Linked DNA regions of Homo sapiens: regions 2 and 3 are each linked to region 1. The links are contacts of gene promoters, found by promoter capture Hi-C in human tissues and cell types (Jung and others, 2019). All regions are on one chromosome and are shown on one strand. Each heading gives the region's core, a stretch centred on a gene start or on the middle of the fragment in contact. The rest is flanking DNA. Distances are from core to core; before and after follow the strand shown. Region 1 holds the start of MLNR (motilin receptor). Region 2 overlaps CAB39L (calcium binding protein 39 like). Region 3 overlaps FNDC3A (fibronectin type III domain containing 3A).

The links. Contacts are between HindIII fragments. The study calls those that stand out against the background at their distance.
Region 2: a contact is called between a fragment that was not itself captured here and the fragment with the promoter of MLNR in region 1, in 1 of the 25 tissues and cell types used here (aorta).
Region 3: a contact is called between a fragment that was not itself captured here and the fragment with the promoter of MLNR in region 1, in 2 of the 25 tissues and cell types used here (lymphoblastoid cells and spleen).

Annotation. Positions count from the first base shown.
Region 1 is chr13:49,218,682-49,221,837 of GRCh38, reverse strand. MLNR (motilin receptor) reads right to left here and starts at 1,500. Exons shown (of 2, transcript NM_001507.1): 1 at 600-1,500. The coding sequence starts at 1,500. RefSeq lists silencers at 1,468-1,547, 1,618-1,877, 1,814-2,070. The HindIII fragment of the contact is 10,157 bases long and covers 1-3,156 here.
Region 2 is chr13:49,430,122-49,433,405 of GRCh38, reverse strand. It overlaps CAB39L (calcium binding protein 39 like), which reads left to right. Exons shown (of 11, transcript NM_001079670.3): 3 at 13-88. Among named protein-coding and RNA genes, the nearest start is that of CAB39L, 12 kb to the left of the region's middle. The HindIII fragment of the contact is 3,113 bases long and covers 1-2,869 here.
Region 3 is chr13:48,980,730-48,984,179 of GRCh38, reverse strand. The region is part of intron 1 of FNDC3A (fibronectin type III domain containing 3A); the gene reads right to left. Among named protein-coding and RNA genes, the nearest start is that of FNDC3A, 6.5 kb to the right of the region's middle. The HindIII fragment of the contact is 3,386 bases long and covers 420-3,450 here.

The DNA of each region.
Region 1 (3,156 bases), core at 251-2,750:
CCCATATGTGTTATCAAGGCTGGACATAAACCAGAAGGAGCAATTTCTCTGAACAAGCCGCCTTGGCAGGCTTCCTTCCACAAACCCACTTCGGAGACAAGTTTTCTGTTCTCTGTTGAAAAGAATTCTACAACAGGTCTGCACAATCTTTACTTTTTGATACGAGCAAGGTTTACTTTAGCCTTCAGCATCACTTAACATTAAATAAAAAATTTTAGCTTAATGAAATCTCCCTCGTCTTCTCAAGAGCACTGTGAGGACTCCTCATCTGTGGCATCTAACAGGTGGTTGGATTAAGAATTACCAACTCTCCTTTCTGGTCTCAGAGGCTCTGGAAAAGCACTGCTGGTTACTGAATCGGATCCGGGGATCCCACCCTCAAAGCGCCCTGGGGTCCCCCAGAGCTCCTGGGGGACAGGACATGGTTTTCTCGGGGGATGGGAAGTACCGGCGGGTGGAGGCTGGAATCGAAATAGGAAAGGGAGCTGGAAGCGGCGCCCAGAGCTGGGCGAGCAGGGGAAGGGGACCCAGCGTTTGCGCGGTCCCCGGCGGGGCGGACTGCAGGCAGGCGTCTTTGGAACCACGGCGGCTCCACTTACGCAGGACGCGGACGGTCTGCCGGTGGCCTCTCTCCCGCCCCGAGGCGGCCGGGCCTCGCAGCGGCCGCCGGCTGCTCCACAGCTCCCGCCCGATGAGCCCGTAGAGGATGCTGAGGCACAGAAAGGGCAGGAAGAAGTAGGCGGTGGTGACCCACAGCATGACACGCAGCGCGCCCAGCTGCGCGGGGCTCGGCCGGCATTCGCGGCTGAACAGCGCCGCGGCCTCCGCGGTCTCGGGCCCCGACGGCGGGGACGGCGGTGGCGCCCGCGAGAGCCAGAGAGGCGGCGACGAGGCGAGAGGCGAGGAGGCGATCCGCGCGGTGCCATTGAGGCCCGGGACTACGGAGATGCCGGGGTCCTGCTCGACGCCCACCAGGAACAAGAAGGGACCGGCAGAGAGCAGCGCCACGGCCCAGAGCACAGCGATGAGCGCGCGGACGCGGCGCCGGGTGACCAAGACGCGGGCGCGGAGCGGGCGGCAGATGGCCAGGTAGCGCTCGACGCTGAGCGCGGTCATGTGCAGCAGCGTGGCGTAGGTGCAGCCCTCGCCCACGTAGAGGGACAGGCGGCAGAGCAGCGGCCCGAACACCCAGGGCCGCGAGCGCCAGAGGCGGTACAGGTCGAACGGCAGCCCGAGCAGGATGAGTAGGTCGGACACGGCCATGCTGCCCAGGTACAAGTTGGTGGTGGTCCGCATGTCCCGGTAGCGCCCGATCAGCATCACGGTCACCACGTTGCCGCTCACCCCGACGACGAACAGGCACAGGCACACAGCGGTCACCGGCACCAGCGCCCCCAGGGGAAAGGGCGAGCAGCGGCGCTCGTCGCAAGGCGGCAGCGCGGGCCACGGCGGCTCCCGCGCCCCCTCGGGGCCGTCGCTGCCGTTCCAGGGGCTGCCCATGGGTGCTCCGCGCGGCCGCCGCGTCCCGGGTCGGGCTGGGAGCCTGGCGCGTGGTCCCTCTCGGTGAGCGCCTCCTTTCCCAGCCCGCACGCTGCGGGCGCGGCAGGTCAGACGGCGGAGCGCTGCGCTGCGCTGCGGGGCGCGAGAAGCGGCTCTGCGGGGTGGGCTCCGAGGCGCTCCCGAGCTAGCTGCGCGCAGTCTCCGCCCACGGCCGCGGCCCGCCCCGGCCCGGCCCTGCTCCGCTCCCGCGCCCTCTCCCGGGCCCATGCAGTTCCAGGGCGCTTCCCTCTCCACTAACTGGAATACCCGGCGCCCTTAGCGCACGAGCCCTACCCGGTCCGGTGAGCGATGTCTGCACCCTAGACAGCTTTGGTTACAGGACTGAGCACTGTACGGGCGCTTTTGTCAGTCTGGTACTCCGGGCACCTTCGAAGGGATCTGGTCTGGTGGCTGGTAGCTGCCGCTTGACGGTGGAGGAGGGCTCATGGTAATCCTCAGGAAGCCATAATGCTAAATAATAGGAGGGGAGTCTAGACCAGAATCTAGAGCCTCTCCTGTCTAATCCTGGCTCTACAACCGAGTAACTTGTGTAATCTTGGGCTAGTCCTGGTCTCGCCCAGCCCAGTTCTCCTCTTCTGTAAATTCGCGAGTGGTGGAGGGAGCTGACCATATAATTGACCAAATAATTTCTTTTTTTTCTTTTTTTCTTTCTTTCTTTCTTTTTTTCTTCTTGAGACAGGGTCTCACTGTCGTCCAGGCTGGAGTTTAAGTGGCGCGATCACAGCTCACTGCAGCCTCGACCTCCCAGGCTCAAGCAGTCCTCCCACCTCAGCCTCCTGAGTAGCTGGGAGCACAGGAGCGCCCAAGCCCCGGCTAAATTTTGTGTTTTTTGTGTAGTCAGGGTTTCGCCATGTTGGCCAGCCTGGTCTCGAACTCCTGACCCCAGGTGGTCCACCCGCCTCGACCTCCCAAAGTGCTGGGATTACAGGCGTGAGCCACCGCGCCCGGCAGTGACCAGATAATTTCAAGGATCCGTGAGCATGTTTACTTATTATAAAGAACAAGACAAATATTTACGTGGACACTAGAGTACTTTCACATGTGATATGTCATTCTTATGTACAACATGTTTTATAAACTTAAAAAACTAGAGGATTTGTCAACACCGGAAAGAACGAAAATTGGGGAAAGGGGCTAAAACGGATGTTCAGTCTGTTCGGTGTGGTCTTAATAACAATAGCTAACACTTACTGAGAATTTAGATGGATCTGGCCCTGTGCTCTCCATTTAATCCTCATGGCCCGGGGCGCTCCTTTCGCCCATGAACAAAGCGGTCTTGCTTGAGATCAAGCAGGCAGTAAGAGGCGGGACTGGGATATGGGCTCTGGTCGGCCTAATCCCAGAGCTTGCAAGCCTGACGTCCTACTCACTGCCCAGCTCCACCCCCTCAGTGGCTTAAATCCTCAACCTCTTCTCTGGAGTCTCGATTCTGGACCTGACACCTGGCTTTGCCTAGGGCAAGCTTCTCCTGCAGTTCTCTCTCACATGCAGACTGTGAGCTTGGAGGAGGGACACCTGTCGCCTCCCTCATCGCTGCTGTTTCCAGCGGTCCTAAAACCGCCCTCCCTAGCGCTTTCCTCCGTGGTCACCCGTAGT
Region 2 (3,284 bases), core at 64-2,563, 210 kb before region 1:
TCTTTTTGTCAGAAGCTGTGGTGATCAGTGACTTTGGTGAAAGCTAAGAAGGTTCAAACAAATTTGCAAATGATATACAACTTCTAAGGTAAGCTAGTATGATGACTCAATCAAGATTTTAAGTGCTCTCGACAGACGTGTAGACTATGCTCAACATACCAAAATAAAATGTATCAGGAATAAATATAATATTGTATTTAAATGTTATAAAGCAGTTGCAGAAATAGTAGACTGATTTGTAGCAATATGATAGACTAGAGAGCCTGAATTCCTCCCTCCACCAAACATGTAAAGTACTAGATTCAGTATAAAAAATATCCTTTAACATGAATGGATGAGCCCATTAAGAAAATAAGGGAAACTTTCTGGGGCTAGAAACAAAACAAGTATAATATATCCTGTGAGATAAGCAGGTGCTGAAGTCATTGAATACTTTGGGGGCATCCATGGATTTCTGTTGGCATTGAAGCTTTGTGTAAGGAGCAGGATGAGGACTAGAGAAAAAGATCCCTGGGTCCCATATAAAGGTAAGAAGCCTGGTCAGAGACCATCTTGCAAAGATATTCAGTTCTGGGTAGACTTAAAATCTTCCCTAATAATTCTTGGTTATCAGCTCACATTCACTTGAATTTGGGGCCTTAATTTACACAATTTTTACAGTTTCTAAAACTCCACAAGTGGAGGATTTTAATTTAAATTGGACCTCAGTCTGTAATACTCTCAGGTACCTTGTAAGAACAATAAAAAAATCCTCCATGGAGGAATGTACGATCAATGCATTCATCAAATAATTGTAGTTAAAATTCTAACAAATAAGCTCATACACATTTTTTAAAATTACAAAATGTAACAAGGGAGAAAACATCAAAACACCAAGAGCAAGAGTCAGCAGAAACAGCAAACAACTGAAAGAGATCTATAGAGATTTCGATTATTAGAAATATACATTACATGAAATAAATATGTTTATGGCCAGTTGCAGTAGCTCACACTTATAATCTCAGCACTTTGGGAGACTGAGGCAAGAGGATCGCTTGAGCCCGGGAGTTCAAGACCAGCCTGGGCAATATAGTGAAACCCTGTCTCTACAATAAATAGAATTAGCTGGGTATGGTGGTGCGTACCTCAGGAGGCTGAGGTGGGAGGATTGCTGGAGCCTGGGGGTCAAGGCTGCAGTGAGCCATGGTCACACCACTGCACTCCAGCCTGGGCAACAGATCAAGAGCTTGTATGTATGTCTAAATATGTATATATGTACATAGTTTAATATGTTCAATAAATAAAATAGGGATTATAAAATAAATAAAGAGTAAGGGGCTATAAAGTGACCAGGTACATTAAAAAAAGAATTGGCAAGAAATAAATACTCGTTTTTTTGTTCTGCTTTTACTCAGCTTAGTTATTCTGAGATTTATCTGTATTGTCTGTAATGTATATTAATAGTTTATTCCTTTTTATTGCCAAGTAGTATGTCACTTTATGAATATACCACAATTTGTTTATCTGTGCTGTGTAGATGGAGATGAATTGTTTCTAATTTTTAGCTAATACAGATAAAGATACTATGAATATTCATGTATAAGTTTTTATATGGACATATGCATTCTTTTCTTTTGAGTGAATTCCTGGGAATGGAATGGTAGGTAGATTTTTTTTACTTTTTGTTTTTTATTTTATTTTTTGTTTTTTATTTTTTTTTAAGACAGAGTCTCACTCTGTTGTCCAGGCTGGAGTGCAGTGGTGCAATCTTGGCTCACTGCAGCCTCCACCTCCCAGGTTCAAGCAATTCTCCTGCCACAGCCTCATAAGTAGCTGGGATTACAGGAGTGTGCCACCAAGCCCAGGTAATTTTTTAATTTTTAGTAGCAATGGGGTTTCACCATGGTGGCCAGGCTGGTCTGGAACTCCTGACCTCAAGTGATCCACCCGCCTTGACCTCCCAAAGTGCTGGGATTACAGACGTGAGCCACCACGCCCAGCCTTTTTTTATTTTTTAAGAAGCTGCTAAAACCGTTTTCCAAAGTAGTTATTAACAGGTAATTGAATAACAAAATTGTGGTATATCTATACAATGGAATACTCCTCAGCAATATTTGTAACAAAGTGGATGAACCCCAGAACAATTACGCTATGTGAAAGAAGCCAGACAAAAAAGAATATATTACACTTATTAAAAGTTCTGAAAAATATAAGTGCTGTATTGCAATGGAAGCATATCAAATGCAGAGGAGACAACAAGGAAAGGGAGGAAAGGAATTCAAAGGGACAGGAAAGATTTAGGAGGTTCACTATCTTGATGTGATGATGGTTTCACAGGTAAATACACATATGTCCAAACTTTTTGAGTTGTACGCTTTAAATATGTGCAGCTTATTGTTAATTATTTCTTAACAGAACACTTTTTAAAGAAACAAAGCCAGAAAATAGAAACAGTGAATAGAGGAACATGTCTTGATAATAATTCATGTGAAAGGCTTGCAGATTGAGTTTCTATTTGGATTATATGACTATTAAGCCTTTCAGTGCAATTCTATGAAAATAGGAAGAGAACAGGTATGACACTTGCGGTATTAACAGGAATTACGAATTAGGCTTCAAAGATTTGATAACATCAGCAAAGATAGCCTTAGGCAGCCATGTCGATACCAGTCTCACCTCCAGATCAGAAACATCCAGACCCTGAGACCAGACAACTCACCTAGAGTGTACTTGAGAAAAAGTTTAGTCTCTAGGATAAAATAAGAAATAACTAAAATCATTAACTTCCTAAATAAAGGAGAGTGGGAGTACCACATAACAAGCACAGGAAGCTAAAAAACTCTTGAAAATGATTGGTGAAAAAAGAAATGTATAGTTAGTAGGAAGAATTAATTGAAAAAGGAGAAAAACCCAGTAACTTTTTTCCCTGCCCTATACGCCAGTGGCTGACCAGTGCCCCTTCTGAATGACCCATTTGTCTTCTAAAATAGATAATGTTAGAGCACTTTCAATTAGGTTATAGCCACCTTGTGTGGGTCTGGGAGCTGTTTTGTCTCTTTTAGGTAATGTTTACGTATGCCTTACTGATTTCCTATGGCAAATTTTATAGTTAAATTCACAGCATTTATATTATTTATAGTAGTTCCACATTATTTGGGTTATCTTAATCCGCCCAACTATCTATAGCAGTTAGCAGCATGCAAAAGGGCATCTTTAGTTAAGTGCAATTTTTGAATTGTGCAACTAAATTTAAATTGAATATCATAGATCAAAATAAACCCCAGGCTGATTAAAAGGAGAATAAG
Region 3 (3,450 bases), core at 863-3,362, 240 kb after region 1:
CAGTTTTCTTCACATAGCTATTACACATTTTAAAATCTTAAGTATTTTATAGTTTAGGCTGCTACTTCTTATTACTGTATTTCATAGTTGGTTATTGTTGATATATAAGAAGGCTAATGAATTTTCTAACTTTATCTTATAGCCAATCAGCTTACTGAAATTTTTTAATACAAATCTTTTTCTGTTATCTCATATTTTTTTGCTATTTGTATTTGTATTATATTTATTTGTATTTGTAAGCAGTCATATCAACTCTAAATAATAGTGATACATTTCCCCCCTTTATTTACAGGTTAATTATTTTTCTTGTTCTTAATGTATTGCCTAAGACTTTTGAACCAATGTTGTGTTCCTATCTATTAATGAAAGTGCTTCTATTATTACTCTATGACATTTGGTGATAATAGTATCTACCGCAGAGAGATGTTTTAAGGCTTAAGTAAACTGATACATATAAAGTTTTTTGCAATAGCACCCAGAATACAGAAAGTGTTTAATGCCTATTAATCATATTATTTACTAAGTGCCTTTTATTTGTCAAGCACAAATAAAAGTATATGCATGCACCATTGCAGAGGTTGGCAAACTAAAGCCTGTGGGCCAAATCTGGTCTGCTGCCTAGTTTCGTAAATGAAGTTTAATAGGAACACAGTCATGCCCATTGTTTATAATTTATCTATGGCTGTTTTTGTGCTCCTGTAGCACAGTTTAAGTAGTTGCAACTGAGCCCATATGGTCCACAATGCCTAAAATATTTACTACCTTCTCTTATATTAAAAAAGTTGCTGACTCCAGTAGTACTGGTCAAACTCAAGGAGTTCATAGTTGAATAGCTGATTTAGACAAGTAAAAAATATATATACATTACAGTATGATATATACAACCCAGATATTCTGTGGGTATTATGGAAACATTTTGCATTTAAATATTAAAAGACAGGAAGGACTCACACAAGTGAAAAGACACAAGATATTTTAATTATTTAAAAATATGTATTTATTTACATATCATTATCTCTCATCCCATTCTGTAAATTTCTAAAGGGGAGGGAGTGTGACATTCATTTTTGTGACATTCAACATTCATATTCTAAGTATCTAGGACATTTTAAATGTTCAACAAATGATAGGCAAATGAATAAATGAATGATATGCAGGATGCCTGAGTGACAATGATTAGGTATGTCTGTCAAAGTTCTAGATATAAATATCCTATGGCAAGCATTTTACTTGTCATGTTAAATAGGATCTTTTAATTCTTGTACAGTCTATATTAGGAGATAGCTACTATTATTACTACACTGTAAAATGAACGAACCAAGGCTCATACAGGTAAAGTAGCACACTCATGTTTCTATACAGCCAGTATGAGAAGTCAACTAACAATCCTGTGGCTGCCTAATGAGAAATATGTTCTCTACACTATATCACAAAGTTGTAAAGAGGTAAGAAATGATGACACAATAGGATATCAACAGAGTATGGACTCTCAAAGACAAAGGAAATTATAATTAATGCAGCAGGAATTGTATTGTGATTTCGATTTCTAAAACTGGGGAATGATCTGAATAAATTCATGTTTTTTAAATATCCTGGAAGCAGCCTAAAAGATGGTTAGAGGGGCAGTAGCCCCTACATTTTACCCAAAGGCTACTCTGTCACACACACTAGGCCAGTTTTAGTAAGGTTCAAGTGATTAAAACAAAAATGCGAACATACTATTTCAGGAATACCAATCTGAAGCATCAGGAAAAGCTGATCCTAATAGTTACTAAAGAAACAAAAAGGTACTTCATAAACTATGAAGGTACTATGCTAAAAATTTTTTTTAGGTATATATTACAAATGAAAATATTACATGGAAAAAAATCAAGTCATAAGAACAAAGACATAATTGAGAATGTCTGTCTTAAGAAAACAAAAAAAATTTAGAAAATTTAAACATAAAATCGCAAATTATGAATTTTCACTTTTTATTTAAGCAAATCTTAAGAAAAACTGATTTTAAAGTAAATGAAATGACTAATCCTTCAAGTTATGGCTCAACAAAAGTAGTTGCTGTATATGGCATATACTTCTATAAAGCAAAGCACGTAATTACTTTCTAATAAAAGTCTAAACTGTGATTTAAAGTGTACTTAAATATCTGTTTAGAACCCCTAGAGAAGTAAGATTTTTTTGCCTCCCAAATTATGTGTCTGTCGGTTTAGAATATACATAAACCAATTAAAGTAATCCCTCACTGAAGAAGTAGTGAAGCGAAATCATTTAAGTTTTTAAAAGTTCAAATATATATTAAAATATGGATTCTGAGGAAAGAAAACAGATACAACACTTTTTTTTCCCCCAGCATTTCTGATAGAGGCTGATTAACATACACAATCTAATTTACCAAACTTAGGTAACTTTTACACCAAGGCTTACTTCAAAGTATACATTGCACTTTGTATTTCTAGCAACTAGCACATAAGAGATCTCAAGAAGTGAAGGAGAAAGAGATATGGAAGTCAATCAGAAGTATAGTTCATCTGTAAAATGAGAATACCACCACATATCTGGCAGGTTTGTATAGGATTTTAAAAATAAGCAAGTATAGGTTCTAAAATTCAATGAGCTCAACTGAATGTTTACTGGAAACATACTATGTTTACAGAACTTTGGAGGATAAAGCTTGAACTCTGGTCTTAAAAAAAAAAAAAGGCTGCATTGCTTCCAATATAGTAGCATTAATGTAAGCACTTTTATGGTATGTATTTTAATGCTTTTATAGTTTCCAACATCTCTGTGGGTTCTCACAATATCTTTGAGGAAAACAGGATAGATATTATTCTCTATTTTAATGCTTAGAAAACCAAGATTGCAAGAAACTAACCCAAAATCATATAGGTAATAAGTGGTGAAGTTAGAACTAAGAACTAGACTTTTGAGTCACCATCCAAGGTACTTTAATTTACCTCTTGTTTAGCAAATGGAAACAGCTGGCATGGTGAAGCTGTTTCAAGCATTCACAAAAAAAGAGGGAGGGCATGAATTTCTCCTTAAACTAAAATTTAAAAAGTAAAAATTGTATTAAGTAGCAATTTATGAAGGCTGTTATTTAAATCAAAAGCTTTATATTGCCTTAAAATTACGGTACTGTATGTACTAAGTATGAAAAATGCTAATAATAAATTAAAGTACAAAAGTTAAGTTTCATGATTTTGTTTGGTTGGTTTTAATGTTTTTAACAGGAAGAAAGAAGCATCACTGATTCTGTCCAGGTTGCTTCCCATCTTATACATCTGTACTTTTTCCAGCACCTAATACTAACCCTGATATATGGAATGTACTGATGCCTGCTTAATGAAAAAATGCTCTCATGATGTATTCTTGCTCTCTTGATGCCACAAAAAATACAGTTGCCCCAGCCAATTGATTTGTGCAGCCACAGCGTGAGGCATCACTATTCAC